7 separate regions of the Homo sapiens genome follow, and regions 2, 3, 4, 5, 6 and 7 are each linked to region 1. The links are contacts of gene promoters, found by promoter capture Hi-C in blood cells and fetal thymus (Javierre and others, 2016). All regions are on one chromosome and are shown on one strand. Each heading gives the region's core, a stretch centred on a gene start or on the middle of the fragment in contact. The rest is flanking DNA. Distances are from core to core; before and after follow the strand shown. Region 1 holds the start of FAM227B (family with sequence similarity 227 member B). Region 2 overlaps ATP8B4 (ATPase phospholipid transporting 8B4 (putative)). Region 3 overlaps GALK2 (galactokinase 2). Region 4 overlaps ATP8B4 (ATPase phospholipid transporting 8B4 (putative)). Region 5 overlaps GALK2 (galactokinase 2). Region 6 overlaps FAM227B (family with sequence similarity 227 member B). Region 7 holds the start of LOC102724587 (a long non-coding RNA gene).

Region 1 (3,994 bases), core at 843-3,342:
AGAAAAATCAACCACCACAAATACCTGTAAGACAGTAAAAGAGAAATGTTTATGGCTCCACCTCTTAGTTCACCTATATACTCTCACTTATGGCTGAGGTGGCCACGTAGAAGAGGCCAGCAATTGTAAATCATGGGCAGCTCCCTCCAGTGGTCTCTGAAACTACATGATCAGGGCATCTGTCCTAACCGAGCCAACAGCCTGCCTCGACTGTGAGAAAATCATTGCAAATGATTTTATTGCAAATGGGGTTATTTAAAATTTTTAAAACATACTTGTTAACATCAAATATGTGCAAGGAAGTACAATTTGAGTCATGGGGGCTAAAAAGACTTAGAAAACATAAAGACTGTTCCTAAGGAACTAACAATTTTAACACCTTGATGGTGCGTCCATCATTCTGGAACTTAAGGCTAAAAATACATTAATTTTTTATTCCTCCTTCTACCCAATTTCCACCCCAAATTAATTATACTCACCAAGTTGCATCTACCTTGTATATAATCCTCTATCTTCACTCTCAAAGTCAGGATTCTAATTCAGTTCCTTATTAACTCATAGATGGGCCACAGCAATGTCTTAAACCTCTTTGAGTACTTATTATTAGTTCCACATATTTGACATGGAAAAATGCATTTATTGTGGAGGTACTTTAGTGAATCTATCCCCTCCAGCATTCAACTCTGTAAGAGCAGATTCCTTCCCTGATCTCACCTATTCCTGATTCTTATGCAACAGCAGGAACTCAACAAACACTTGTTAACTAAATCAAAACCATTCTGCAAAACACATCCAGTAAGCATCTCACTACTGAAGTATCTGACAAACTACCTTTATGGGCCGTCTGCAGCCTAGCACAAGTGGCAGGCTGGCAATTTTTTTTTCTCCAAAATAATAACAAAAAGCTTCTACCTCTTCCATTATTGTAAGCTGACTCACCTCCCAATGGAACACTATACAGACTCCCCTGTCCTATATTGTGGACCAATTCAGTATTAGAAAAAAACCACTTCCAATTTTCTTTAGAGTGTTTTTAAGAACTTGGTCACATAGGACCTACAGGTCCAACATTCATTTTTCATAATCCAAGGTAGTAGTACCCTTTTTCATATAGGATCAATGGCCTCTCCCACACCACCCGCCATATGGTAACAAACTGTCTTGCCTTCGTTTTCATGGTGCACTGGGTTAGTCCTTACATGCTGCGATCTACAGTATTGATTTTACCATCCAACTTTGTGGGCCTGGCGACTGAAAATGTTAATATACTTCCTTATTTGTCCTACATTCCCAATAAATAATTTAGACGTAAGAAACAGGCTCTTTTGCTTATTATGTAACCACAACCTCAATATTTTAAATACACTGCATGGCATCACTAATTCTACGTCTGTACTACGCTTCCCCTTCCGTGATAACCAAACCCCCACAAACCACTCCAAATACTAAAAATAAAATAAAATAAAGTATGGGGTTCCTAGGGAACTGACTTTGCCAGGACATACTTTTCGTTGGGGCGGAATGCACCGAAAATCATTGGTAGGAAAAATAATTTTTTTTTTGAGGAAAAATTTGGAAACCTTTTTCCCAAAGGGCCCGCAAGATCCTAAAAAAAGCAAGAGACCGCGCAGAAACCGAGGATCCCCCTCACAGGCGACACCCAGCGCGACCTCCGCTAGGGTCCTGACAAAGAATGTCCACTTCCCGCGGCCGCACCTCTGGGGCCAGACCACTGGTCTCCAGAGAGGCGCGGGGACCTCCACCAGGGATCGGAGTGGTACTCAGACCTGCACACCCGCGAGTCCTCGAACAGCTCCACACGTCTCCAGCTCCGCCCGAGCCCGAGCCACGCGCCGGGCCGTGATCGCGCACGGACCAGACGGAGCGCTTTCCGGGAGACACCAGAGGGAGGAGCCAGGCAGTTACTAGCGTCGTTGCTAAGGCAGGGGCCGCGCACACCGCACACCGCGCGGCTTAAGCAACAGGCTGGGACGACAGCGGGGGGGGGGTTAGACGGGAAGTTCCGCCTCAGCCTCTCAATCAGCGGCGGTGTCGCACTTCTCCCGAGAGGCTCCGGCGAGGGGCAGGGCCGCGTTCGTCCGGGACCCGCCTCAAGCCTCGCAGCCTTTCACCCAGTTTCCTCCCGATTCTTGCTGGGACAACAAAATTGGGAAGCGGTTCTCGAAACATACTGTCAAGGCGTAGTTGCAGTGAGTTGTGAAGAAATGTTGATCCCAGAGAAAAGTTTGCATTTTGCCCACCTCAAAGATATTTTGATTGTGAGAACTTGGTTACATTAGTCTTTCGTGGCTATATCAATATCATTATTTCGTGTGCTGTGTGGTAATGAAAGCTATTAGAAAAATCATTTGTATCTTAATGATTTAGTTTGCATAAAAACACGCATATAGAGTTAAGAGTACTTTGTGTTTTTCCACTTTGAAGTATAATATGTGGATAAGTTATTAGAACATTTGTCCGTGCCTCTCCCCAAACAATGCGCAAACGGAAGTGCACTCTAACAACTAAGATTTTAAAACACAATGGTCAAATGTTGAGCAATGTTTTATTGACTACTCTGAATTTATCAAGTGGTAGATAAAGGACATTACAATGCCCTAGAAGTGCTCACGATATCAAGTAAAGCATGTTAAATTCAAGTACAGAAAATGCAATATTCTTACTACTGAGATAAAAAATGGAATTTAATAAATTACAGGAATTTCAAGAAAGCTGAGAATGGAGTGGTCAATAAAGGCTTCTTTTTCGGACTTGGGTAAGGCCTTGAAGAATGATTTAGGTTTAGGACAGTGTTTTTCAACTGGAAAGGGGATTGTGTGGGACCCATTAGTGGAGGTCTTGACCCATTTGTAAGCAAGGAAATCTCTTTAAACTTAAAAAAAAGAAACAATATAGATTGGAAATATCAGCGCATGTAAGTAAATTTAGTGTTAGTTAGTAAAGTACTGCTTTATGGAGCTTTTAATTGTATATATGCGTGTATGTGTGCACTAGGGCTTGTTTGTAAAATGTATTTCTTACTGTATTTCAAACCTTAAAAAGTTTGAAAGCCAGTGATTTAGGGAGAAAGGTGAATTTTCTGGGTAGGGAAAGTAGAATAGCAAAGTCTATAAGCCAAGAAGAATTCACAACCATTTTCCTTTTTAGTTTAACTCTAAATTTTATCAAAGTAGTTAAATTGCACAGATTAAAAAGCAAATAATACTACTTGTTAGATTGAGCATTGGGTTGCTATCGTATGTAATAAATTACTCCAAAATATGGTGGCTTAAAACAACCATTTTATTATGTTCACAGGTGGTGTTGTCAATAGGGCATAGTCATCAGCTTTTCTTTGGTAACTCAATTAGAAAGACTAGAGTGGGCATGCTAGCAGAGCTTCTGTAACTATATGGCCGGGGTTTCCTCACAGTATGGCAGCAAGGTAGTCAGACTTCTTAGCTTAAACTCAGAGCTCCAAAGGGAGTGTTGCAATGAACAAGGCAAAAATTGCCTGACCTTTTCTGACCTTGCCTCAAAAAGTAACGCGGTGCTACTTCCCCCACTTTCTTTTGCTTACAAATGTGTCAAAGTCCTGTTCCATTTTAGGAAAGGAGACATAGATCCCTCTTCTCAAAGGATTGGCAAAGATTTCTTGTCCATGTTTTAAAACCAGCATAGTGAATTTACTTCTGTAACAGAAAACCCCAAAATATCGGTGGTTTAATACACTTTTTTTTTTCCTCACAAAAGATCCATTGTGGCTATTTCTAGGCAGACGAAATGTTAAATTCAAGGCCAGATGTTTTTATTTTTAATGGTTCTGCTGCCTTCTAGGACTAGCTTGTTTGACAAGAAAGAAAGTATGGCAAATTACCCAAGGTTAACTCTAAAAATGACATGTATCAATTTGGCCACATTCTGTTGGCCAGAATTTAGTCCCAAGGCCCCCACTTTAACTGCCGGGGATCCTGAGAAATGTAGAGAAACACAC
Region 2 (3,994 bases), core at 518-3,017, 430 kb before region 1:
AGAGTTGAAATTTCCTAGATAACCGGCTTATCTTTCTTACTCTGGCTCAGGCTTGTAGGTTTTAGAGCTATTTCTGATCATGAGCAATGCCTTGCCCCAAACTAACATGATGCTATTTCTTTTCCAGGATAATCGTATCCACACATCGAAATATAATATTCTCACCTTCTTGCCAATTAATTTATTTGAACAGTTCCAAAGAGTGGCAAATGCCTATTTTCTTTGCCTTCTGATTTTACAGGTAATATTTAGGTTGTATTTCTCTATTATCTGTTTGTTTAAAGTATTCATAAAATTGTAAAAAGTAAGTCAATTTACTTAGCTAAATGTTCGTGATTAGGTACAATCATCCTTTATCAGATTTTTAATCTTGTTGTTGCTGTTTCTTTTCACAAACGTGGGAGAGGTAGGAATGGTTAAAAAGTAGTACATTCATCATTTTAAACACTGAGGTCACTTTAAAACACAGCCTTGCACTTTATTTGAACCAAACCAGAGCCTAATAATTACTGTTCACAGCCTCCCTCCTTTCTTTATCTCCCTTTCACATCTACAGTGTGGGGATTGCCAGAGTTGAGGCAGAATCTTAGGTGACTAAGACTGAGTAGGTTGCAGAGCTTAATTCTGCACATTTCATTTTCATTTAAGAACAGTGACATATTTTTAATATATATAAAGTGATGATGCTATATGTTATTTCACTGTAGGTGACTACTTTTACAGTTTTGAATGGTTAATTGGTATTTAGTAACCTTTGCTTTTTCTCCTAACTAAAATTTGCCTTTAAATGAAATTTCAGCTTTTATGGATATTTTGGGAAGGAAAAACATATGAATCAAGGAAGCTACATATATACTGTACACATACATACTATACACACACATAAATAGTTCATGTTAGCCAGTTATTTACCTAGTATTTATGTTAGCATACTTTAAGCAGATCAAACTGGTAGGTCAAGAATGGCTAAGAAGTAAGAAGATGGATTAGATTAATAGATTTGAGTACTGTTTTCTCTTTAATTGAATATCTATTTAAGAATATGTTTCAAGTGACAGAAATCTTAATTAGTTTGAGCAAAAGATAAATTATTCATGGGTATCTCATTTCAGGTATTACTGGATTCATGGGCACAATTTCATCAGGATGTGGCTTCTCTTTCTCTGTTTTTGTTTTGTTTTGTTTTTGTTTTTGTTTTCACACATTGGCCTTTCTTAGGTAGGCCCTCTACTTGGTGGCCCTGACAGCTTCCTGGTTTCAACTCAAGTCAGAGAGAGAGAGAGTGGGGCAGAGAGGGGGAGGGGGAGAGAGAGAAAGAGAGAAAGAGAGAGAGAGAAAACGAATGAAGGAATTACTTTTTCTGTTGCTCCAGCAAAAGTCTTGAGATTAGTTCTGATTGGAGCTGTATCTTCATTCCTAAACCTGTCACTGTGGCTCAAGAGTTTGATCCAGTAATTGGCTTAACCAAGATCATATGCCAAACCCTGGATCCATGGTGGAATCAGTTTCCTAAAGTTATGTGGACAGAAAGTGAGGGGATATGATGGTTCCCTAAGAAATAGGAGTATATTTGAGAAGAACTGGGTGCTGATCAGGAAAACAAAAACAAACAATGAATAAACATCTTACTATTTGTTGAAGAAAGCTTAGAGTCCAAATTTCTTCCCCCCACCTCTCCCCATGAAGTTGCTTTTGGTTTCTTCAAGTAACACTTCACACCATTCCAGAATTTTGAATTCATTTCTCTAATGGCTTTCTCATTTGTGGCCAAAGGCTCTTGTTCATAGAATTTTATATTTAGAAGGGAACTTTGGGATGGTTCAGTCTAACCTCTCCTTTCTTTATTGCTGAAGAAATTAGACCCAGAGAGATTAGGTGGTAAAGCTTTCACCATGAGTTGATGATGAACTAGGACTAGAATTTAGCTTTTCTGACACCAAGCTCAACATTTTTACTGCTACATCAGAGGCTTTTGAGTTTTTTTTAAAAAATCTTACATGGAAGCTGCTATGTAAAATTGATTTAGAGTTGTTTTGATGGGGCCTGATCTTTAGCCACTGACCGTCTCTACCCCATCCTTTCCTGCCTGATGGCCCCGAAGCAGCAGATTTTCAAATGAATCCCATTTGAAAACCACCTAAGAGATTTATGTCCACTGTCACTATGTCTCTCTTATGTGGGTGGCTTTGGAGGTATGGGCACAAGGGAATAGGGCTTGGAGTCCAAGAGACCTAGTTTCAAATTTTAACAGTATGTGATCTTGGCCCAGTTGCATGACCTGTTAGATTCTTCATTTATAAAATTGGGACATGATACCCAGGTCTGCAACATTTCCTGACTCCTGGTCACCCGTCATAATGTAGTATTCTGTGTTGTGTACTGGGGGTACTATTTATGTGGAATACAAACCTTCTGGGATTATACAAAAACAATCCTAGTAGGAATCTAACTCAATGAACTTTTCCGAGGATTAAATGATGTAATAAATGGAAAGTACCTGGCACAGTGTCTGGTGCAAGGCAGATGTTCAAACAATCTCTCTTTGGGAATTGGTAAAAAGAGGAGTTGGTAAAATTGTTAAAAGTTGAGATGAAAAGCAGAAAAAGATGGGTGAAATTTAACATATTGGAGAAAGTGATCATCTGTGAGAGATTTCAAGAAGCTTCTCCCCTTGCTATAAAAATTTCAGTTTTTGGTTAGGTAGTTTGAAAACAAGTTCAATAATAATTCTACTCTATGTGTCTTATAACCAAATACAAACACTTAAATTATTGAAAGTCATTCTCCATTTGTACAAATAAGTCAATATAACCCCATTAATTTGAAATTAAATGACACAGTTTGGAAGATATATTTTCTAACTTTAAAAGCCCTAAACTATTTGGAATGTTTGTTTCAGCTAATTCCAGAAATTTCCTCCTTGACCTGGTTTACCACCATTGTGCCTTTGGTCCTGGTGATAACTATGACAGCTGTCAAAGATGCCACAGATGACTATGTGAGTATTTGCTCTTGAGCATTCTTGAGGTCTCAATTTCAGTTGTGGCTTCTCAGAAATAGATAATGAAGATACATTTGAAATTTTGAATGAAGTTATTTTGGTTAATATCATATAAAGCTATTTTACTATTTGTTTGATGATTAATACAGGTGCTGTAAAACCAGAGCCTGTTTAAAAGCAAGAAGGCTTCAGTAACTAGATTCACTTTCTCCTTTTATAGATGAGAAAACTAAAGCCCAGAAAGAGCTAGTGATTTGCTAATAATACAACCAATTTGTGGAAGAGCAGAATTGGAAATCAACCTGCATTCACTCAGTGAAGTGTTACTTATTCTTTATCACATGTCTTTGTTTAAGGTTTGAGAGCTGGTAAATATTAGGTATTCTTATACATTCTTGTCATTATATTAGGAGTTACAAAGTCAAATATAGTTGATCCTTGAATGATGTGGGGGTTAGGGACACCAACTCCCTGTACAGTCAAAAATTCATGTATAAGTTTTGACTCTCTCAAAACTTTACTAATAGCCTATTGTTGGCCAGAAGCCTTACCAATAACATAAACAGTTGATTAACACATATTTTGTATGTTATATTTATTATACACTGTATTCTTTTTTTTTTTTTTTTTTGAAACGGAGTCTCGCTCTGTCGCCCAGGCCGGACTGCGGACTGCAGTGGCGCAATCTCGGCTCACTGCAAGCTCCGCTTCCCGGGTTCACGCCATTCTCCTGCCTCAGCCTCCCGAGTAGCTGGGACCACAGGCGCCCGCCACCGCGCCCGGCTAATTTTTTGTATTTTTAGTAGAGACGGGGTTTCACCTTGTTAGCCAGGATGGTCTCGATCTCCTGACCTCATGATCCACCTGCCTCGGCCTCCCAAAGTGCTGGGATTACAGGCGTGAGCCACCGCGCCCGGCCTACACTGTATTCTTATAATAAAGTAAGCTAGAGAAAAGAAAATGTTATTAAGAAAATTATGAAGAAGAGAAATA
Region 3 (3,994 bases), core at 998-3,497, 390 kb after region 1:
ATCAGAATTTTACTCTACTGTCACTCACAGAAGTTGAAAATATGTTGCTCACCATCAACAAGAGGTCACACAATTTGAAAGCAGATACAGTTATGTTAGCATATCTGACAGGTTCTATTCCTAGTTAAAAGGACATCTTGAAAGTCACTAAGAAAAGAAAAACAGAAAGAGATTTTGAGAGGGGAATATGAACAGAGGGGGTAGGCAGGTATGAGGAGAAAAAGAGGAGGATAGTTGCACATATGTAGGAAGCTACATGAGCAACGTTCCAGAAAGAACTGTGATATAATTTGGATTTGCATCCCTGCCCAAATCTCATGCCAAGTTGTGATTCCCCAGTGTTGGAGGTGGGACCTGGTGGGAGGTGACTGGATCATGGGGGTGGATTTCCCCCTTTGGTATTGTTTTCATGATAGAGCTCTCACTAGATCTGGTTATTTAAAAAGTCTGTGGCACTTCCCACCTCTCTCTCTTCCTCCTGGCTCTGGCCATGTAGACATGCCTGCTTCCCCTTTGCCTTCCACCATGCTTGTAAGTTTCCTGAGGCCTCCCTAGCCATGCTTCCTGTACACCTGTAGAATTGTGAGTCAATTAAACCTCTTTTCCTTATAAATCACTCAGTCTCAGGTATTTCTTTATAGCAGTGCAAGAATGAACTAATATGGAAAATTGGTAACAAGGACAGGGGCATTGGTATAAAGATACCTGAAAATGTGAATTTGCATTTGGAACTGGGTAACAGGTAGAGGTTGGACCAATTTGGAGGGCTGAGAAAAAGACAGGAAGATGAGGAAAATTTGTAACTTCCTAGAGACTTGTTGAACGGTTGCTTTGAAAATCCTGATAGTGATATGGACAATGAAATCCCAGCTAAGAAGGTCTCAGATGAAAATGAGGAACTTCTTGGGAACTAGTGTAAAGGTCATTTTTGTTATGCATTAACAAAGAGCCTGGAGGCATCTAGGGGTATGTGGAACTTTGAACTTGAGAGTGATGGTTTAGGTTACTGACAGGAGAAATTTCTAAGCAGCAAAGCAGTCAAGATATAGCCTGCTGCTTCTAACAACCTATGTTCATATGCGTGAGCAAAGAAATGACCTGAAACTGAAACTTATATTTAAAAGGGAAGCAAAGTGTACGAGTTTGAAAAATTTGAAGGCTGGCCATGTGGTAGAAAAGAAAAGGCCTTTTTGGAGGAGGAGTTCAAGCCAGCTACAGAAATTTGCATAAGTAAAGAATAGTCAAATGCTGATGGCCAAGACAAAGGGGAAAAGACTTTCAAAGCATTTCAGAAACCTTTGCAGCAGTTCCTTCCATCACAGGCATGTAGGTCTAAGAAGGAAGAATGGTTTCATGAACAGGGACCAGGGTCCCACTTCCCTGCACAGGCTCAAGACACTGCTCCCCATATCCTGACCCCTCTGCCTCCAGGGGTGGCTGAAAGGACTTCAGATACAGCTCAGGCTGCTGCTTCAGAATGTGCAAGCCATAAAACTTGGTGTTTCTATGAGGTGTTTAGCCTGCCAATGTTCAGAGTGCAAGAGTTAAGGCTTCGGGAGCCTCTGCCTAGATTTCAGAGTATGTGTAGAAAAGCCTAAATGTCTAGGCAGAACCCTGCTGCAGGAGCAGAGCCGTCATGGAGAATCTCTACTAGGGCAGTACTGAAGGGAAATCTGGGGTTGAATCCCTCACACAGAGCCCCACTGGGGCACTACCTAGTGGAGCTGTGAGAAGAGGGCCATTGTCTTCGAGACTGCAGAATGGTAGATCAACCAGGAGCTTGTACCATGCACATGTAAAAGCCGCAGGTGCATGAACACTAGCCCATGAAAGCAGCCTCAGGGGCTTTACTTTGCAAAGCCTCAGAGGTGCAGCTTCCCAACCTTAGGAGCCCACCCCTTGCCCCAGTGTGCCCTGGAAGTGAGATGTGGAATCAAAGGAGATTATTTGGAGCTTTAAGATTTAATGACTCCCTTGCTGGGTTTCAAACTTACATGGGGCCTGTAGCCCCTTTCTTTTGGCTAATTTCTCCCTTTTGGAAAAGAAGTATTTACCCAGTGCCTGTACCCTCACTGTATGTTGGAAGTAATAACTAACCCATTTTTTATTTTACAGGCTTATAGGCAGAAGGGACTTGCCTTGTCTCAGATGAGATTTTGGACTGTGGACTTGTAAGTTAATGCTGGAATGAGTTAAGACTCTGAGGACTGTTGAGAAGGATGACTGAATTTTGGAATGTGAGTACCTGAGACTTGGGAGGGGCCAGGGACAGAATAATATGGTTTGGATTTGTGTCTCTGCCCAAATCTCATGTCAAATTATAATCCCCAGTTTTGGAAGTGGGGTCTGGTGGAAAGTGATTGGATCACAGAGGTGGATTTCCCCCTTTGGTACTCTTCTCGTGATACAGTTCTCACTTGACTTGGTTGTGTAAAAAGTGTGTAGCTGCCCCCAGCCCTCTGCCTCCTGCTCCACTCATGTAAGACATGCCTGCTTCTCCTTTGCTTTCCACCATGTTTGTAATTTGCCTGAGGCCTCCGCAGCCATGCTTCCTGTATATCCTGTAGAGAATCATGAGCCATTTATACCTCTTTTATTTATAAATTACCCAGTCTCAGGTATTTCTTTATAGCAGTGTAAGAATGGACTAATACAAACTGAAAAGTGCCAGCTCCCACAGAATTAGAAGTATGGCTCAAGTCTGTCAGAAAAAAACAAAAAAAAACTGCTTTTTGATTAGTTATTGATCTTTGCTCTTTCCCACATCCCTATCTCACCTCTCTACCTAGCCTTTTCCTGAGGTTCAAAACCACTCATTTTCCCACCAATTCTCAACCCTGCATTACATTATCCATTTGCTTTCTCTACCCCCACTTCCATGTTTGTAGAATTCTGAGAAAAGAATCCTGAAAATGAGCAGACATGACCCATTATTACATTAATACTTTCCACTTACATATTTTATTCATTTACTTGTTCTTCAAAGAAACATCTGCCCAGTGTCTACCCTGTGTGTGTCTGGACCTGGGGTAGGTAGACCATTATAAGACACCTGTGTGTGTCTGGATCTGGGGTAGACCATTTATAATAAGAGTAGCATCAAAAAAAATATGAAGTCGGAGGCACAGAAGAATGCCTGTAGGCATCTGGTACTTGCCTCCTCCATAAAGAAGAACCAAAATAACAAGTTGACAATCATAGTTAGAATAGATCATGTAAGAGAGAACACTGAATTCAACAAGAAGTGACAAGGAACACCTAAGGCAAGGAAGGAGAGGAAATCAGGGCAGCCTGCTCAGCCAGAATCAGCTGGGAGCCTGGAGAGGCTCTTCAGCGTGGGTAAAGGGCAAGAGAAACACCCCAAGTGGTCCACATTACTATCAAGGACTCCTGCAATCCTAGCCATAGGAGAGCGCCTCAACCCTTTAGGACCATGCGACTGACAGAGGAACTACTTGGAAATCACATGATGGCATTGCTCCAAAGAGGAAATTCATGCTGGGTTCCACACACCCCCAAGTCTTAAGCAACTTGCACATCACTATCCTGAGATCCCAGACTCTACTAGACCGCATCCTGCCATGGGGATCAACAGCTCCTGTCTCCACATCCTTGCAACCTCTCTGATGTCCCCTACCCACAGACACCACGAGTGCTAACTGCTGTTGTCAGAGCCAAAATGTAAGCCACTGGCAATAACTACAATACTCCCAGCAGTGGGACTGCTGTGTATTTTCACGAGCCCTAAATACAGACTCCCTCACTCACAGCAACTTCCATTGCACTGCTGAGGCCAAACCATGAGCCACTGGCAGAACCCTGGTATTCACAGCAGCAGAGCCACCATGGATTTTCAAGTGCCCCGAGGAAACGCTACCCCACCTGCAGCCACTACCTGGAGCCAAAGTGCATGCTCCCCAGCCAATTGTCTACGACTGCTGCCAGTAAAAGCAACCCCACTCTCCCCCGCAGCTGGGCCACATCACAGCCACTG
Region 4 (3,994 bases), core at 998-3,497, 380 kb before region 1:
GCATTGACCGCTTATCCTCCCGGCCCCGCTGGGCCTTCCCTTCGCACTCCCTCCTCAACCACAATGAATTAACGCCTTGAAGGACGAGGTTAACAAAAGGGAACAGCAGGCCTCAGCAGAGGGACAGGGAGAAGGGAGGATGGATGAAGGGAGTGCAGCAAGGCCATCAAGGAGTAGGAAAGCAGGAGGAAGGTTCAGAGAACATCAAAGAAAAAGCTGGTAACTGGGGAGATGGGCGGAGGTGGGGAAGGTAGGCGTCTTGGTCCTGGAGAGTACAGTGAGCAAGAACAGTTAGCCCGGAACCTATGGGGGTCAGCCTGTGGGAAGCTGGGTCACTGCTCAGGAGAGAATCTGACCGCCAGATGGCAGTGGCGCCTCAGTCACATGTTCCTAGCCAGCTGTGTGCAGGGACTCCACCCCTTGTTTACCATGGTGTGAGTGTCAGTGCAGCCCCACCCAGTCTTCAACAGTAACACTGGATTCGAGTTTCAAAGAAAAGCAGCCCTGGGTACAAATAGGCATCTTTCTCTATATTCAATCACAGATTCTTAGGATTAGAGAATTTTGGATTTTGTTTAACATGAGCCTTTTAAGCCCAGGGGAGGAGAGGTGCAGGCCCATAGACTGACTGTTAAGCTCTATTGCTGTTTAGTGCCTTGTGCCTGGTTTTATGCATTGAAATTTGAATGTGGGAAATAAGATCAAGGTGAATTTTCAAAAAAAATTTTTTTTTCCTTTAAAATCAGGATGGGTAGTTTTTGGCCCAAGAGCGGCATCACTTTCTTTATGTGGCTTTCCTCTGTTCACAGTGTGACAAGTCAGAGAATTTCTGCCTCAACAAGCTTCTGTGGCTCTTTGATTCAGAGTTGTGTAAGAGCCTTGCTAATGCAAACCCACTTATTCTTTTAGGGGCCGTCACAGGGTATTTTTCCCCAGCTCTGTTTTATCCCAGTTTAGACAAAACCACACACACACACACACACACACACACACACACACACATGCACACCCTATTTTTGAGTTGCAAATTTAAAAGCTTGAGACAATCAAGAAAGTAAGTTGATTCTAAATTTAACCCCCAAGATTCAAGAACAAAGCAATTCTAATGTTTTTAAAAATAAAGGTAAGAAAATATCACAGATTTGGAATGCCAATCATACATTCAGACATAGCTAGAAAATTGTTAGGCTAATGTCTCAAACTAAATTGCTAAAATTTAAGCCAATTCTTTTTAGACATTCAGACCCTTCAAAATTTTATAAAAACACTTATTTTTAAAATAAGTTTAGAGCTTTGAAATAAAATCAATAAGCACTTTGCCAATTTAGAGAGCTACCAGGATGCTAAAACTGAATTGTGATAGGTGATATGCAAAGCTCAATTGGACATCAGAATAGAACTGTTTATCTCTGAAAAATCCAAACTACTCAGTATCTGATTTTTTCCCACTGCCTTTGACTACATTTTCTCTTCTGTCTTGCTGTTTTCCTTAGTCCCTACTTTATCTTAGCTCTCCTCTTTCTTACTCCCTACCATCTTTTACTTTTTTCTTTCCATCTTTATCTCTTTCTTAACTTCCTTGCCCCTCTTATTTTTATTTTATTTTTTCAGTTTCCTCCATCTATTTCCCTTCTGTCTTTTCCCCATCTCCTTTGCCTGCTCCCTGCTTTTAACTGATGACACTAGGTAATTAAAGTTTGTGCATATATTTCCAATTATTTATTGGAGAGAGTTTTATGTTAGTAATTATCAAAGCAAGAAAATAGAATTTATATGTTTCATTAAAAAAAGGTGAATCAAGTGGCTATTAATTCATATGATAGCTCCTTTCCTTGCTTATGTTGTGATAGTCAAGGGGCATATAAAGGAGGAACAGGGAAGAGGGAGGGTTTGGTTCAGGGCATATGACATAGAGGTAGAACAGGATCTCACTTCTTTTACTCTGTTTCTGAGGCTCTGTTGCCTCTTTAGTAGTCAAGAGGTGATATACTGTAGAAGACTTTCAACCAATCTAACTTCTCAAGTATTCTTTTGTTATGATTTTTGAAAATAGGCTGATTTACTTCTCCTATCAAGTAGTGAGCCACATGGTCTCTGTTATGTTGAAACTGCTGAGCTTGATGGGTAAGTTATTAAAATTAGAATAATTTGGTTGGTTTTTAATTTATTTAAAAGTAATGTCTTTAGAGATAAGACTTAACCTTGTTCAGTATCTTCTTGGGAGACATAGGAGTTTACATTGCAAAGTCCATAGTTAATTACTCTACAGTAATTTTGAAACTGTTTTTTCTCTTAAATTTATTTTCTTGCAGAAACAGTGAGCGAAACTTATATACAGGAATAACTTTACACAGAGAATCTTCAGTAAGATTCCTTAGATTTTTTAAAAAAAGTTTTTGCTTGTTTTGATTTCAAGTGATTTTATAGGGAAAATGAGAGGGGTAGAGATCAAGATTCCTTGAGGAGGGAAGGAAGGACTGATGTTACTTTAAAAGGCAACCTTTTGGAACTGTGTCAAATGAAGACATAGAAAAAGAAGAGAGAAACAGAATATGATGCAGTTTTGATGTTGATATTAATTTAGAATTTAGTTATAGACCATATAGCAGTTCTGTTTCAGAGGATTTAGTTTGTCTGGCATAAAAACATTTATTGAATGCTTACATTTTAATGACACTATGTATTTGTGTTCTTTAGATGGAATTTATCATTTAATCCTGATGTAGGTGCTATGTAATTATGCCCTATTGTACAGACAATGAAATCAAGGCTTAGAGAGCCTAGGTAATTTGTCCAAAGCATCTGAAGAGTGAAGCCAGGACTCGAACCTGGCAGTCTGACACCAGAGTCCATGGTTTTAACTGGTGCCTTCCAAATTATTGTCATATTGAGCTATTCAAATAGTACTTTAGTCTGTGGGACCCTACTTTGGACAGAACAGTTCAGACACAACTAAAACAGTTCTGAGAGGAACATTTATGGCATACATTTGAAAAGAGAAAAATTCTCAAATAAATAATCTCATCATTCATCTAAAAACCCTAGAAAACAGCAAAATAAACCCCAAAGAAGCATAAGAAAGGAGATAATAAGATAAGAGCAGAAATAAATAGACTTGAAAACAAAAAAAATAAAGAAAATCAACGACACAGAGCTAGTTCTTTGGAAACATCAATACAAGTGACAAACCTCTAAGAATACTGATAAAAGAAAAAAAAAGAGAAGACACAAATTAGCATATTATGCATGAACCATGGAAATTTGGTATAGATCCTGAAGACATTATAAAGGTAAAAAAGAAATACTACAAACAACTGTGCACACATAAATTTGACAATTTAGAAGAAATGGACCACTTTCTCAAAAAAAAGACTATACACTTAATATGAAATAGATAATTTGAATAGCTCTATAAGTATTACAGAAATTGATTTCAAATGTAAAGTATAAAAAGCTTTGAGGAAAAAAATAGGAGGAAATCTTTGAAATCTAGGGCTGTCTGGTCAGATTCTTAGACTTGACACAGTAAACATAATCCATAAAAGGAAAACTTTGATAAACTGGACTTCAAGAAATTAAAAATTTTTGTTCCACAGAAGTTCCTGTTAGGAGGACTTAAAGATAAGTTACAGACTGGAAGAAAATATTTGTAAACCATCTATTTGACCAGGGACTTGTATCTTGAATATATTTTAAAAAAACTTCTTAAAACTCAATAGTAAAAAAACAAACCATCCCATTTGAAAATGGGCAAATGACATAAAAGAGACATTTCACCAAAGAGGACGTACAAATGGCAAATAAGCACATGAAAAGATGCTCAACATCATTAACTACTGAGGAAATACAAGCTAAAACTACAATAAGATCTCACTACAGACCTATCAGAATGGCTAAAATGAAAAAGAGTGACAACTCCAAATGCTAGCAAGGAAGTAGGGAAACAGGATTATTCATACATTGTGGGTGGGAATGTAACATGCTACAATCACTC
Region 5 (3,994 bases), core at 714-3,213, 300 kb after region 1:
AAGGCTCTATGATTAATTTAGCACAATTTTGTCTCTTTTTTTCAATCTAAATGAGATATTTTACTTCCTGGACATATCAATAGAATACTACCTCTACTCTAGAACATCAGAATTACTGCATGTCAGTAATTGATTTTCCTGTCAGTGATTCTTCTCAGTTGATTTCTTTTTATCATCTGCTTTATTATATATATTAAAATACGCTTTTCAAATGAACATAGGTATTTAAGAAAGAAAAAAAATGCTTACAAACAAATAAACATCACTGATCTCCTCCTATCCCTTTAACATTCAATTTATGGCCCAGTGACTAAGCCTGAAATCCCATCATCCAGGCTAAAAAATTTCTCTGACCTTGGGATCCTTGGATTATTCTAAATTTCTAGGTTGGCAAAGGGCCTGTTTGCAGTTTGTTGGATTTAAAAAATGGTTGTCATGCCGGGTGCAGTGGCTCACGCCTGTAATCCCAGCACTTTGGGAGGCCAAGGCAGGCAGATCATGAAGTCAGGAGTTTGAGACCAGCCTGACCAACATGGTGAAACCCCGTCTCTACTAAAAATACAAAAATTAGCCGGGTGCACACCTGTAATCCCAGCTACTCAGGAGGCTGAAGCAGAGAACTGCTTGAACCCAGGAGGTGGAGGTTGCAGTGAGCCGAGATTGCACCGCTGCACTCCAGCCTGCGTGACACAGTGAGACTCCATCTCAAAAAAAAAAAAAAAAAAAAAAATGGTTGTCATATGCAGTCGTATCAAACTCTTACTGTGGAAGATGCTGGGGAAAACTGAGGTGTCACTGAAGTGTCTCTGGAAGACCCTAAAATATGGGCATTAAAGCCAGCCATGACATGGTCTAGAGAAGAATACTGTGCCTTCTTACTTGATTTTCTAAGATCTAAAATATGCCGTTTTGCTGGACTCAAGTTATCAAGTCTTTAAGGGTCCTCAATCCAACTTCTAAAAGGCATATTTTATTATACTTTCTCATTTGAACAGTTTTTGAAAGCTGTGGTTTTTCAAAATTGAACCTAAAGCAAACAGAGTATTATTTTTAATCTGGCTGTAAAACCTATAGGAACTGGGCCAGAGGTCTATTTTCCTGAGACTTTTACTAGTTTCCAGGGAGCAGAAGCTGGAAGTCTTTGTAGGTAAAGATATTTGCTACTGAGTCTCCAGAGCTGCTCTGTCACCACCCTGCCTGCTACAGATGAAAATGGACTGAATTGCATCAATCACATGGTCTGAAATCAGGGCTCAAATTTCCCAAATAAAGAATGATAAGTGCTATTAGAAATAGCCTTCTGCCCCCAAGTCAGTGGCACATCTGATCACAAGTCAGGGCTGCCCCAGCAGCTGGTCAGCAGCCTGCGCAGCTGTATACACTTATAAAGGCAGAAAGGTCTGTCTGCAGTGTTCCCTGCTGGTACTTAATAGGCCCTTTGGCATATGCCATAGAAATTCTGAGAAGACCGAAAGTTAGGAGACCGATATACCCTTTAAATTAAGAAAGAAAAGTAAGTGAACCAAGGGTGTTTAGTGAACTTTTCATGTTTGCGCCTTTTTCTGGAAGAACAATAAAACATTAAAAATATATCTCCTGAGCTATTGCACATCAGAGAGGCAATACAAGAATTACAAAAACCAAAACCCTAAAATCCCTCGGATCCCACTTTGATGATTGTGATGACTAGATTGGGAATAATGTAGAAGGGTTTGTTAAAGCAACAAAGGCAGCCTCTACTTTATAAAGCACGATGGCAAAGGCTAGGGCAGATGAGGGATGGAGATTATGAGGAATGTTACTCTTTGATCCTTGTGTATTCACAGAATTAACTATCCAGGCACCCAATATAGCCAAAGTCAAATTTCCTACTTTTAAGTGAACTAATTCGACCATAAAGCACTTACTAAGTTGCAAGATACAGAGCAATGGAGAGGGTGGGGAGGAGATCCAGGAGACCCAACTGCACTACACACTTGAAAAAGAGGGAAGGTAAGAAATTATGCCTTGTATTTAAATTCTGTGTCATTTCTTTCTAAATAAGTAAATATATATTATACAAATGGATATGAAATAAATTATTTCAGGAAATCTAGAATTTAGGAACAGGTCACATCCATCTCTCTGACCCCAGCCCAGCACAATTCTAGAAATTCTAGGTTCTAATAAATGGCTGCTGGACTACGATATTTCCCTTAAAATATTTTAAAAATTATATATAATATAAGCAGTCAGCAGTGTATTTTTTTACTTGAGAAGACTTCTAGCTTCTGCTCTCTGGGAAATGGCAAGAGTCACAGGTAAGGGAACTTCTAGCAGTTTCTATGATTTTTACAGCCAGGTTAGACACCGTGCCTTCAAATTGCTTTACAGTCAAGAAACCACAGCCTTCAGTGTTCAAATGAGAAAGGATAAGAAAATATGCCCACATGTCTACTTTAGAAATGTAAGCCACTTAAAGGCCATTGAAGAGCAGTGGGTTTGGGTCCTGCAAATGGCATGTATATTCATAAGTCAAAGAGGCCCAAAGAGAAGTGAACCCCTAAGGGGAGGTGAAATGGCTCCCTCCCTCTTTTTTTTTTTTTGACAGGGTATGCATGTTAGCACTTAAGGTCATGGGGAAAGAGCATGCAACAATGGATTTGCACTTCATTCTTCCCCATTATGACCTTGTTGAAGAATGGATGCGAGAGGCTGAGCAGCCTCACCATGGAATACATTGCAGAAAGACTTCTGAGGAAGACAAAGTAAATTAACTTTTGTAATCATAGTTGATCCACTAAAATTTGTCATTCATCTCCCTTAATAGCTTGGGCGATAATGCAGCAATTAATCCTCTCTAACTTCAACAAGTGTCAAAACAAAAACAAAAGGCATTAACCATTTTGTCTTAAGTAAAACGAGGGAACCAATAGTGAATGAGCTGTCTCACATATAACTGACTTGGTTTCAAAATTGTTTTGTGTTCTCCAGTAAATTCTACTTAAAATTTAGTCATTTCTTTCTGTTTACATTTTGTTTGGCTACAAAAGATACTTTATAATTCAGCAAACATTATCTTTTTCCTTCATTATTTACTTTGTTTCATATAATTTAAGTTCTAACATTAATTTAATTTTTTAAAAAAGCCTCACTCTGTAAGTATAGTTTCCTTCATCCTCCCTGCTCCTTTCTTTAGATTCTAAACTGATTTTCTCTTGAAGAGCAGGAAAAGGTTCAACTGAAAAAGACAGCTAGCAGTGGTGCTCTTTCCCAACCCCCCTTCTCTCCACTTGGGTCACAAAGTTGTTCTATACATTGTCCTATATGCTAAGTAGGAGATGCCTTTTTAATTCAGTCTAGCTCAGATCACTGTAAGATTTTCTGCTTGTGTATAGCAACTTAGGTATTCTAGGTATTCAAGCCGTTAATTTACTCACTCAATTAGTTGTCTTTTCATACAAATAGTTTCCAAGAAGCCCTTCAGAAACACTAAAGGAATTTTGAAGTGCCATAAGTGGACCAGGGAGGGTGATGTAAAGATTATTTTTGGCAGTGCTCCTCCTTGAACCCATTTCAGCTTCCCTCCTCCTCCCTCTTTTGGGGAAAACAAGCAACCTGCTCAGGCTGCCCAGTCTTAGTCACACCTTCCCTACTGATGTTAACATTTTTAATGGTGGCAGGGTAATTGTGGAGGTGGTGGTGGTTTTTAAACAAAGCAATACTTTGCTAGAGGTTGTGTCTGTGGCACCAGTGGCTCACACCAGGCCTTGCCAGGACCCCTTCCAGTATGTCCAACACCTTCTCTGCCTGACCCAGTGAGACAGTCACAAGGCTTCAGAAGGAACTAGGGCTTACAAGTAGCTCCACTGTTCATTCGAACCTTTCCCCATGTTACTACCTGCTACTCTTGTACCGTCTGTCTTCCCCATCCTTTATCCATCCTTTATCTTATTCCCACTAATTTCTGCATTCTTCTGAACCCCTCCTTCTTGCCTCATTACTTTCCAGACAT
Region 6 (3,994 bases), core at 478-2,977, 260 kb after region 1:
CCTACAAGAAATGGATAAATTCCTGGAACATACAACCTACTAAGATTGAACTAGGAATAAACTGAATCCCTGAACAGACCAATAACAAGTTCTGAAATTGTATCAGAAATAAAAAGCCTACCAACCAGAAAAAGCCCAGGACTAGATGGATTCACAGCTGAATTCCACCAGATATATAAAGAAGAGCTGGTACCATTCCTACTGAAACTATTCCAAAACATTGAGGAGGAGGGACTCTTTCCTAACTCATTCTGAGGCCAGCATCATCCTAATATCAAAACCTGGCATAGACACAATAAAAAAAGAAAACATCTGGCCAATATTCTTGATGAACATAGATGCAAAAATTCTCAACAAAATACTAGCGAACGGAATCCAGCAGCATGTCAAAAAGCAAATCCACCATGACAAAGTAGGCTTTACCTCTTGGACACAAGGTTCATGCAACATGTGCAAATCAATAAATGTGATTCATCACATTAAACAGAACTAAAAACAGACCCATAAGATTATCTCAATACATGCAGAATAGGCTTTTGATACAATTCAACATCCCTTCATGATAAAAAACCCTCAACAAACTAGACATTGAAGGAACATACTTCAAAATAATAAGAGCCATCTATGACAAACCCACAGCAAACATCATCAAAAGCTGGAAGTATTCACCTTGGAAACCAGAACAAGACAAGGATACCCACTCTCAACACTCCTATTCAACATAGTATTGGAAGTCCTGGCCAGAGCAATCAGACAAGAGAAAGAAGTAAAAGGCATTCAAATAAGAACAGAGGAAGTTAAACTATCCTTGTTTATAGACAATATGATCCTATATGTAGCAAAACCAATCGTCTCTGCCCAAAAGCTCCTTAAGCTGATAAACAACTTCAGCAAAGTTTCAGGATACAAAATCAATGTACAAAAATCAATAGCATTCCCATATACCAACAACATCCAAGCTGAGAATCAAATCAAGTCTGCAATCCCAATGCCAATAGCCACAAAAAGAATAAAATACCTAGGAATACAGCTAACCATGTAAGCAAAAGATCTCTACAACAAGAATTACAAAACATTGCTCAAAGAAATCAGAGATGACACAAACAAGTGGAAGAACATTCAATGATTGTGGATATAAAGAATCAATACCATTTAAATGGCCATACTGCCCAAAGCAATTTACAGATTCAATGCTATTCCTATCAAACTACCAATGACATTCTTCACATAATTAGGAAAAACTATATTAAAATTTATGTTGAACCAAAAAAGAGCTTGAACAGCCAAGACAATCTTAAGCAAAAAGGACAAAGCTGGAGGAATCATGTTACCCAAATTCAGATTCCACTACAAGGCTACAGTAACCAAAACAGCATGGCACTGATATGAAAGCAGACACAAAGACGTATGGAACAGAAGAGACAGCTCAGAAATAATGCTGCACACCTACTACCATCTAACCTTTGACAAAGTTGACAAAACAAGTAATAGGGAAAGGACTCCCTATTCAATAAATGGTGCTGGGAAACTGGCTAGCTATATGCAGAAGATTGAAACTGGACCCCTTCCATACACGACATACAAAAATCAACTTAAGATGGATGAAAGACTTAAGTGTAAGACCTAAACCTATTAAAAAAACTCTGGAAGATAACCTAGGACATACCATTCTGAACGTAGGAAATGGCAAAGATTTCATGATAAAGATGCCAAAAGCAATTGCAAGAAAAACAAAAATTGACAGATGAAACCTAATTAAACTAAAGACCTTCTGCGCAGCAAAAGACCTATCAACAGAGTAAACAGACAGCCTACAGAATGGGTAGAAATATTTGCAAACTATGCATGTGACAAAGATCCAATGTCCAGAATCTATAAGTGTATTAGTCGGTTTTCATGCTGCTATAAAGAACTACCTGAACCTGGATAATTTATGAAGAAAAGAGATTTAACTGACTCACAGTTCTGCAGGTTTAACAGGAAGCATGACTGGGGAGCCTCAGGAAACTTACAATCACAGCAGAATGTGAAGGGGAAGCAAGAACCTTCTTCACGTGGTGGTAGGAGAGTGAAGGGGGAAGTGCCATACACTTTTAAGCCAGCGTATCTCATGAGAACTTTCACTATCATGAAAACAGCAGGAGGGAAATCCACTCCCATGATCCAATCACCTCCCACCAGGACCCTCCCCCAACACATGGGGATTACAATTCAACATGAGATTTGGGTGGGGACACAGAGCCAAACTATGTTAATAAGGAACTTAAATCAACAAGCACACAGCAAACAAACCCATTAAGAAGTGGGCAAAAGACATGAATGAACACATTTCAAAAGAAGACATACACGTAACCCACAAGCATATGAAAAAATGCTCAACATCACTAATCATAAGAGAAATGCAAATCAAAGCCACGATGAGATACCATCTCAGACCAGTTAGAATGGCTACTATGGAAAAGTCAAAAAATAACAGATTCTGGAGAGGTTGCAGAGAAAAGGAATGCTTATACACTGCTGGTGGGAATGTAAATTAGTTCAACCGTTGTGGAAAGCAGTTTGGCAATTTCTCAAAGAACTGAAAGCAGAATTACCATTCAACTCAGCAATACTATTACTGAGTATATACCCAAAGGAATATAAATCTTTCTACCAGAAAGATACATTCACGCGTATGCTCATTGCAACACTATTCACAATAGTAAAGATAAGGAATTCAACCTAGATGCCCATCAACAGGACTAGGTAAAGAAAACGTGGTACATATACACCAGGGAATACTGTGCAGCCATAAAAACTAACAAGATCATGTCCTTTGCAGCAATATGAATGGAGCTGGAGGCCATTAACCTAAGTGAACTAATGCAGGGACAGAAAACTAAAACCACATGTTCTCACTAATAAGTAGGAGCTAAACATTGAGTACATGTGGACACAAAGAAGGGAATAACAGACACCAGGACCTACTTGAGGGAGGAGGGAAGGAGGAGGGTGAGGATCAAAAAACTGCCTACTGGGTATTATGCTTATTACCTGAGTGGTGAAATAATCAGTACAACAAATCCCTGTAACATCAATTTACCTATGTAACAAACCTCCACATGTACCCCTGAACCTAAAATAAAAGTTAAAAAAAAATTTGCATCATAGGTAATATTTTTTAAGTTTTTTAAATTAATTTTTTAATTGACAAATTATAATTGTATATATTTATGGGGTAAAAAGTGATGTTATGATATATGTATACATTGTGGAATGACTGAATCAAGCTAACATATTCATCACCTTAAATACTTATCATTTATCCCTCCTAACTGAAACTTTGTCCTCTTTAACCAAAACCTCCCTATTCCGCAACCCCACAGGTAATATTTCTATTGATAAGGAGTGATTTGCCTAAATCACAAGAGGGAGGATGACATTATTGTCTATGTGTAAGGATTCACATGTAAACACTGAGTAGACTGGAGGTATGTATGGAGAGGACTGGAGGGAGTCAATGAAATTTCACATCACAGGAGTGCTTATGTCTTCTGACATGATTTTAAATGTATATTTATTTATAAGGATGATAAACTTGTTTACTAGTTAATGTACACTAATTCATTAGCAGAACATTTAAATATAATTTTTGGATGATCTTTGGAGTTTTATTAAAAACTTGGTCACTTGATATTTGAATTATGAGTAAAACAGGAGAAAAACTTTGATGTCTAGGATTTAGAGCTGAATGCATGGTATATCTTTAAACTGCAGAATCTTGGATAAAATGTATTTAGAGCTGCTAATTCTCCCTTCATACTTTGTCTATGTTTTTATAAGCCACCTCAAGCCCTTTATGTGTTGAGACTAAGCTAACCAAAGAATACCCAAAAATTTAATAATTTTTTTAACATGCAAAATGCAAATTATTTAAAAAATTGAAAACTCAGAGCCAAAATGTTGGTGTAGTCTGTATGGGTCTCGTTAAAAAGAAAAGTGTATAAGCCATATC
Region 7 (3,994 bases), core at 454-2,953, 260 kb before region 1:
ATAGGCAAAATGGGGATATATGCCTGCTTCACATGCCTCATTGACTTTTAGTGAGGCCCATGCAGGGAATTCTTGTGTAATTAGTCTACAAAGGTGTGAGGGGATATTTTTGTTGTTTTGCTATTTATGCCCATCTTGCTTTAAACCACTCCCCCGCAAAAACCTCTCCATTTTAACACAGGATAGAAATAACAGGCTTATTACTATATTTATCTCTGAAGATTTTAGTGAATCCTTTGTTTACCACTTGGATCAGATAATTGGACTCATTATAAGCCACTGAAAACCTGGAGAATAAAATGGCAACCCACCACAAGGTCAGGGGCTCATACGTGTCCCGCACTATGTTAGGGGTACTGCTGCATGTATTATTTTGTCCTCACTGCCACACTGCAGGAAGGGTATACATCACTTTAGAGATAAAGAAACTGCCGTTTAGAGAGATCTAGTATCCCATTAAGGCACCAGAGCTGATAAGAGGCAGGTCTAGGAAAGAATTCATATTTGTCTGATTCCAAAAGTCAACTCCCACCCACCTCAGAAAACCTGGTTATTTAACCTAAATGTGAATATTCTCACTACTATGGATGATGTTTCTCACTTATATGTTATATTTCTTTTCAGACTGTTTATGACCAGTGGTTCATCACCCTTTTTAACATTGTTTACACATCACTGCCTGTTTTAGCCATGGGGATTTTTGACCAGGTATGTTTTTTTTCCATCTTTATAACTTAGTTTCTCTTTTATGCCTTTTAGTTTTTTGTGGGTTCTAAGTAGAAAACACAATTCTAAGTAGCAGCCCTAGGAATGCAGTTGTTTTAGTTGCTTTTGCATGGATCACACATGCTTCCAGGTCCACTGTGCCTCCCTTACCCCTATACCCTAGCTTCCCCAAAAGCATTATTTGATAAAAGTTGGTTACTCTTCTCTTAGAGGTTCACACCCCATAGATTGCTCTAAAGGCTCTAGAAGTCCTGTACGAAGTAATCTCTTTAACTTCATTTTAACCCAGCATTTCCCAAACTTCTATGACTGTATATGTTTTCATATAGCACCTATTAATTAATATGTCTCAGAACTAGTGTCTGTGGTTCACACACGGGGAAATGCTGCCTTAGCCTCTGAGAGCTTATAAAGAACCATGCAATGATAGAAAATCATGGGGCTAGGTTGGAACACAGGGGGCTAACACCTGCAGTGAGACTCCCTTGTTGCGAACATCTGCAGTGAGACTTCCTTGTTACACACAGCCCAGAACAGGAGCCACAGACCAGTAGAGCAGTCTGCCAGTGGGAGAGGAGGATGAGAAGCTCCATGGCCAAGGAAAGAAAGAGCATGGATTTCTTTTGTCCCAGCATCAATGTGCTTGAGTGGGGAGAAAGGAGAGGATCAATCACAAAAATGGTAGATCCTTGGCATACTCAGAGCCTTGGAAGGGACTTCCTGGAAAGGGGAAAAAGTCTGGCTGCCTGTGGGGAAGTGAAAGACTAGCCAGTGGAATTTCCGTGGCACAATTAGAGTGTCTTATTTTTAAAAAGACTTTTTGTTTTTTAAAAAAGTATTTTTAAGGAGACCACATTTTCTCCAGGCTGTTGTTAGACCTATTTGCTAGGCCTCATTTTCTGGGCCAAAGCCGTCTATTGCAAAATATAAATCTTCACATTATGAGCTCACTCCAGTCTCCCATTTGGCTGGCTTTGTAGTCAGTTGTTAAGTCTCCCTTCTCATATGTAAAAAGGGCAGTTTGCGAAAGGCATATTTTCTGGAATTATACAAAAAAGTAATGAACTTCTGAAGACCTTAGATGTAAAGGATTAAGCACATTCATTTCTCAGCGCCCATGTTTACAAGTGTTTCTTTTCTTGGAGCTTTGTAGCTGCCCAGAATGTGGAATAAAATAATAAAAATAAAGCAGTTTCTGGGAAAAGATGGTTATTGTGCAATTCAAAAAAAATATAATAAGGCTTCCTATTACCATCAAGTTGAGTGTCTGCTCCTCTCTCCTTTCCTGCTTTGTCAACCTTGGCCCTTAAACTGATCACAGGATCGTGGAATGCTATGCTGGACAGGCCTCAGCAATCATCAACAGATCTGCTCATTTTTTAAGGCAGAAACCAAGCCTTGGAGAGTCATTTCCCTAAAGCCACACAGCCAATAAGTGACACGGCTAAGACTAGAACCAGGCCTCTTAACTTTGAGGTTGCTACATTATTGCTATTGTTGTTATTATCATTATTTTATTAATTGTTATTTATAGAAGCATCTGGCATATTTATTACTTACGATGTGGCAAGAACTCTACTAAATACTTTACATACTGGTTTAATCATGGCGATAGTTCCATGTGGGAGGTGTTATTGTTTGCATTTCTGGGCATGAGGAAACCAAGGCTCAGGCGGATTAAGTAACAGGTTTAAGATAACACACCAGCTAAACCCGTTACCAGGGATTGAGCTCATGACTGTCTTGTTTCAAAGCCTGCGCACATAACCCTCAGTCACTGAACTAGGGGAACAAGCATCCAAAAGCATCTAAAAACAGGACTTTCTAAAGAGAATATGCCTGTGTTTTTCCATGGGACTCTGTTTGGAGAGACCTGGGCCATCCCACAAGCAGGAAGGGGAATGTTCCTCTCCCACAATAGTTCACCACCTGTGTTGCTTCCACTTTCGCCTCTTCTCCTCCACCTGTGGTCCTCTGATGTCCCCTGTGGTTGATTCTTGCCATCCTTTTTGGTTTTTGGCATTTGGCTTTGGTGCTCACTGTGGTTATCAGCATTACTTTGGAGCTGGCTGGAAATGCAGTCTTGGGCCCTCAGCCCTATTGAATCACAATCTGTTTCCCAGGCGATTTGTGTGCACATTAGGTTTGATAAGCATTTAGTTTCTCTTGGGACCTGGTTGGTGTCAAATGTGCCACCTTCTCATTCTGTCTATATTCTTTCTTTGTCCTGAACACCTGGTAACTGCTGTTAAAATTCTCACTGGGTAGGATCCTCATCCCAGCCTCCTTCTCACCTGGAATCCCAAATGCAGTTTCCCCTTTTCCCTGCTCTCTTCTTCCTGCTCACTTCCCTCCAAAGTCATGAGCTCTGATTTGACAATTCTGACTCCACAGCTCTCTGCTGTCATCTCCTGGTCACTACCACTCACTACCTTGACAATTAACTTCTGGGGCCCATTGGCTGCACATGATGTGCTGGAATTCTGGGAGCACGAATGCTTCTGACAGCCTGCAGGAGAGTGTAGGAAAGAAACTTCAATTTGAAGCCAAATAGCTAGGCTCAAACCAAGCCCTGGTTCTGCTACTTACGAGCTGTGTGACCTCTCATGAATCTCTCTTGGAGACTCAAGCTCCTTCTCTGTAAAGTAGAGATCATTTTATTATCTTCTGGTTTATTGTGGGAATACAAACAAGATAATGTCCTGTTCTGGCCCAGTGAGTAGTGCATTTTAGGACATGTTTAAACAGGCATTTGCTATTTCTGAAGATAGGGAATACAAGGCCTCTCTGACTCTTTTTAATCCTTCTCCACTGAAATTACACTCTGTTTACAGGATGTGAGTGACCAGAACAGCGTGGACTGTCCCCAGCTCTACAAACCAGGACAGCTGAATCTGCTTTTTAACAAGCGTAAATTTTTCATTTGCGTGTTGCATGGAATCTACACCTCATTAGTCCTTTTCTTCATCCCCTATGGGGCCTTTTACAACGTGGCTGGAGAAGATGGGCAACATATTGCTGACTACCAGTCCTTTGCAGTTACCATGGCCACATCTTTGGTCATTGTGGTCAGTGTGCAGGTAACGCTGTCGGTGTAAGCACCTTAACTTGATGGGTTTACAACTTTTACTATTTCATTGTTGATTGATTTTGTCTACTTGTTGGGGGGAAATAATCCTAAAGGAATACTGGGGCTGTCCTTTTAAGTACACATTTTGAGATGAAAGCAGGAAGCTTTAACATAAATTACTGGGGAGAATTAGCATTA

The links. Contacts are between HindIII fragments. The CHiCAGO score rates a contact against its expected background, and 5 or more counts as called.
Region 2: a fragment that was not itself captured here is called in contact with the fragment with the promoter of FAM227B in region 1 in 1 of 17 cell types (M1 macrophages); the score reaches 5.3 in M1 macrophages.
Region 3: a contact is called between a fragment that was not itself captured here and the fragment with the promoter of FAM227B in region 1, in 2 of 17 cell types (M1 macrophages and megakaryocytes). The highest score is 6.3, in M1 macrophages.
Region 4: a contact is called between a fragment that was not itself captured here and the fragment with the promoter of FAM227B in region 1, in 2 of 17 cell types (erythroblasts and megakaryocytes). The highest score is 6.1, in erythroblasts.
Region 5: a contact is called between a fragment that was not itself captured here and the fragment with the promoter of FAM227B in region 1, in 1 of 17 cell types (megakaryocytes). The highest score is 5.2, in megakaryocytes.
Region 6: a contact is called between a fragment that was not itself captured here and the fragment with the promoter of FAM227B in region 1, in 1 of 17 cell types (megakaryocytes). The highest score is 5.1, in megakaryocytes.
Region 7: a fragment that was not itself captured here is called in contact with the fragment with the promoter of FAM227B in region 1 in 1 of 17 cell types (M2 macrophages); the score reaches 5.2 in M2 macrophages.

Annotation. Positions count from the first base shown.
Region 1 is chr15:49,618,916-49,622,909 of GRCh38, reverse strand. It overlaps FAM227B (family with sequence similarity 227 member B), which reads left to right and starts at 2,092. Exons shown (of 16, transcript NM_152647.3): 1 at 2,092-2,210. DTWD1 (DTW motif tRNA-uridine aminocarboxypropyltransferase 1) reads right to left here and starts at 1,862. Exons shown (of 5, transcript NM_001144955.2): 1 at 1,788-1,862. RefSeq lists an enhancer at 1,631-1,750. The HindIII fragment of the contact is 6,893 bases long and covers 908-3,994 here.
Region 2 is chr15:50,043,598-50,047,591 of GRCh38, reverse strand. It overlaps ATP8B4 (ATPase phospholipid transporting 8B4 (putative)), which reads left to right. Exons shown (of 28, transcript NM_024837.4): 4 at 128-241; 5 at 2,900-2,998. Among named protein-coding and RNA genes, the nearest start is that of ATP8B4, 74 kb to the left of the region's middle. The HindIII fragment of the contact is 239 bases long and covers 1,648-1,886 here.
Region 3 is chr15:49,229,731-49,233,724 of GRCh38, reverse strand. The region is part of intron 3 of GALK2 (galactokinase 2); the gene reads right to left. Among named protein-coding and RNA genes, the nearest start is that of GALK2, 61 kb to the right of the region's middle. RefSeq lists enhancers at 807-1,477, 1,478-2,149. The HindIII fragment of the contact is 9,875 bases long and covers 1-3,994 here.
Region 4 is chr15:50,000,283-50,004,276 of GRCh38, reverse strand. It overlaps ATP8B4 (ATPase phospholipid transporting 8B4 (putative)), which reads left to right. Exons shown (of 28, transcript NM_024837.4): 8 at 2,054-2,124. Among named protein-coding and RNA genes, the nearest start is that of ATP8B4, 120 kb to the left of the region's middle. RefSeq lists enhancers at 191-485, 482-671. The HindIII fragment of the contact is 2,418 bases long and covers 1,039-3,456 here.
Region 5 is chr15:49,322,992-49,326,985 of GRCh38, reverse strand. The region is part of intron 9 of GALK2 (galactokinase 2); the gene reads right to left. FAM227B (family with sequence similarity 227 member B) reads left to right here. Exons shown (of 16, transcript NM_152647.3): 16 at 1-16. Among named protein-coding and RNA genes, the nearest start is that of FGF7, 98 kb to the left of the region's middle. The HindIII fragment of the contact is 5,212 bases long and covers 1-3,994 here.
Region 6 is chr15:49,360,387-49,364,380 of GRCh38, reverse strand. The region is part of intron 13 of FAM227B (family with sequence similarity 227 member B); the gene reads left to right. It also overlaps a transcript of GALK2 not described here. Among named protein-coding and RNA genes, the nearest start is that of FGF7, 61 kb to the left of the region's middle. The HindIII fragment of the contact is 9,554 bases long and covers 1-3,994 here.
Region 7 is chr15:49,876,090-49,880,083 of GRCh38, reverse strand. It overlaps ATP8B4 (ATPase phospholipid transporting 8B4 (putative)), which reads left to right. Exons shown (of 28, transcript NM_024837.4): 24 at 625-708; 25 at 3,561-3,806. It overlaps LOC102724587 (a long non-coding RNA gene), which reads right to left and starts at 2,785. Exons shown (of 3, transcript NR_187946.1): 1 at 2,656-2,785. The HindIII fragment of the contact is 4,518 bases long and covers 1-3,962 here.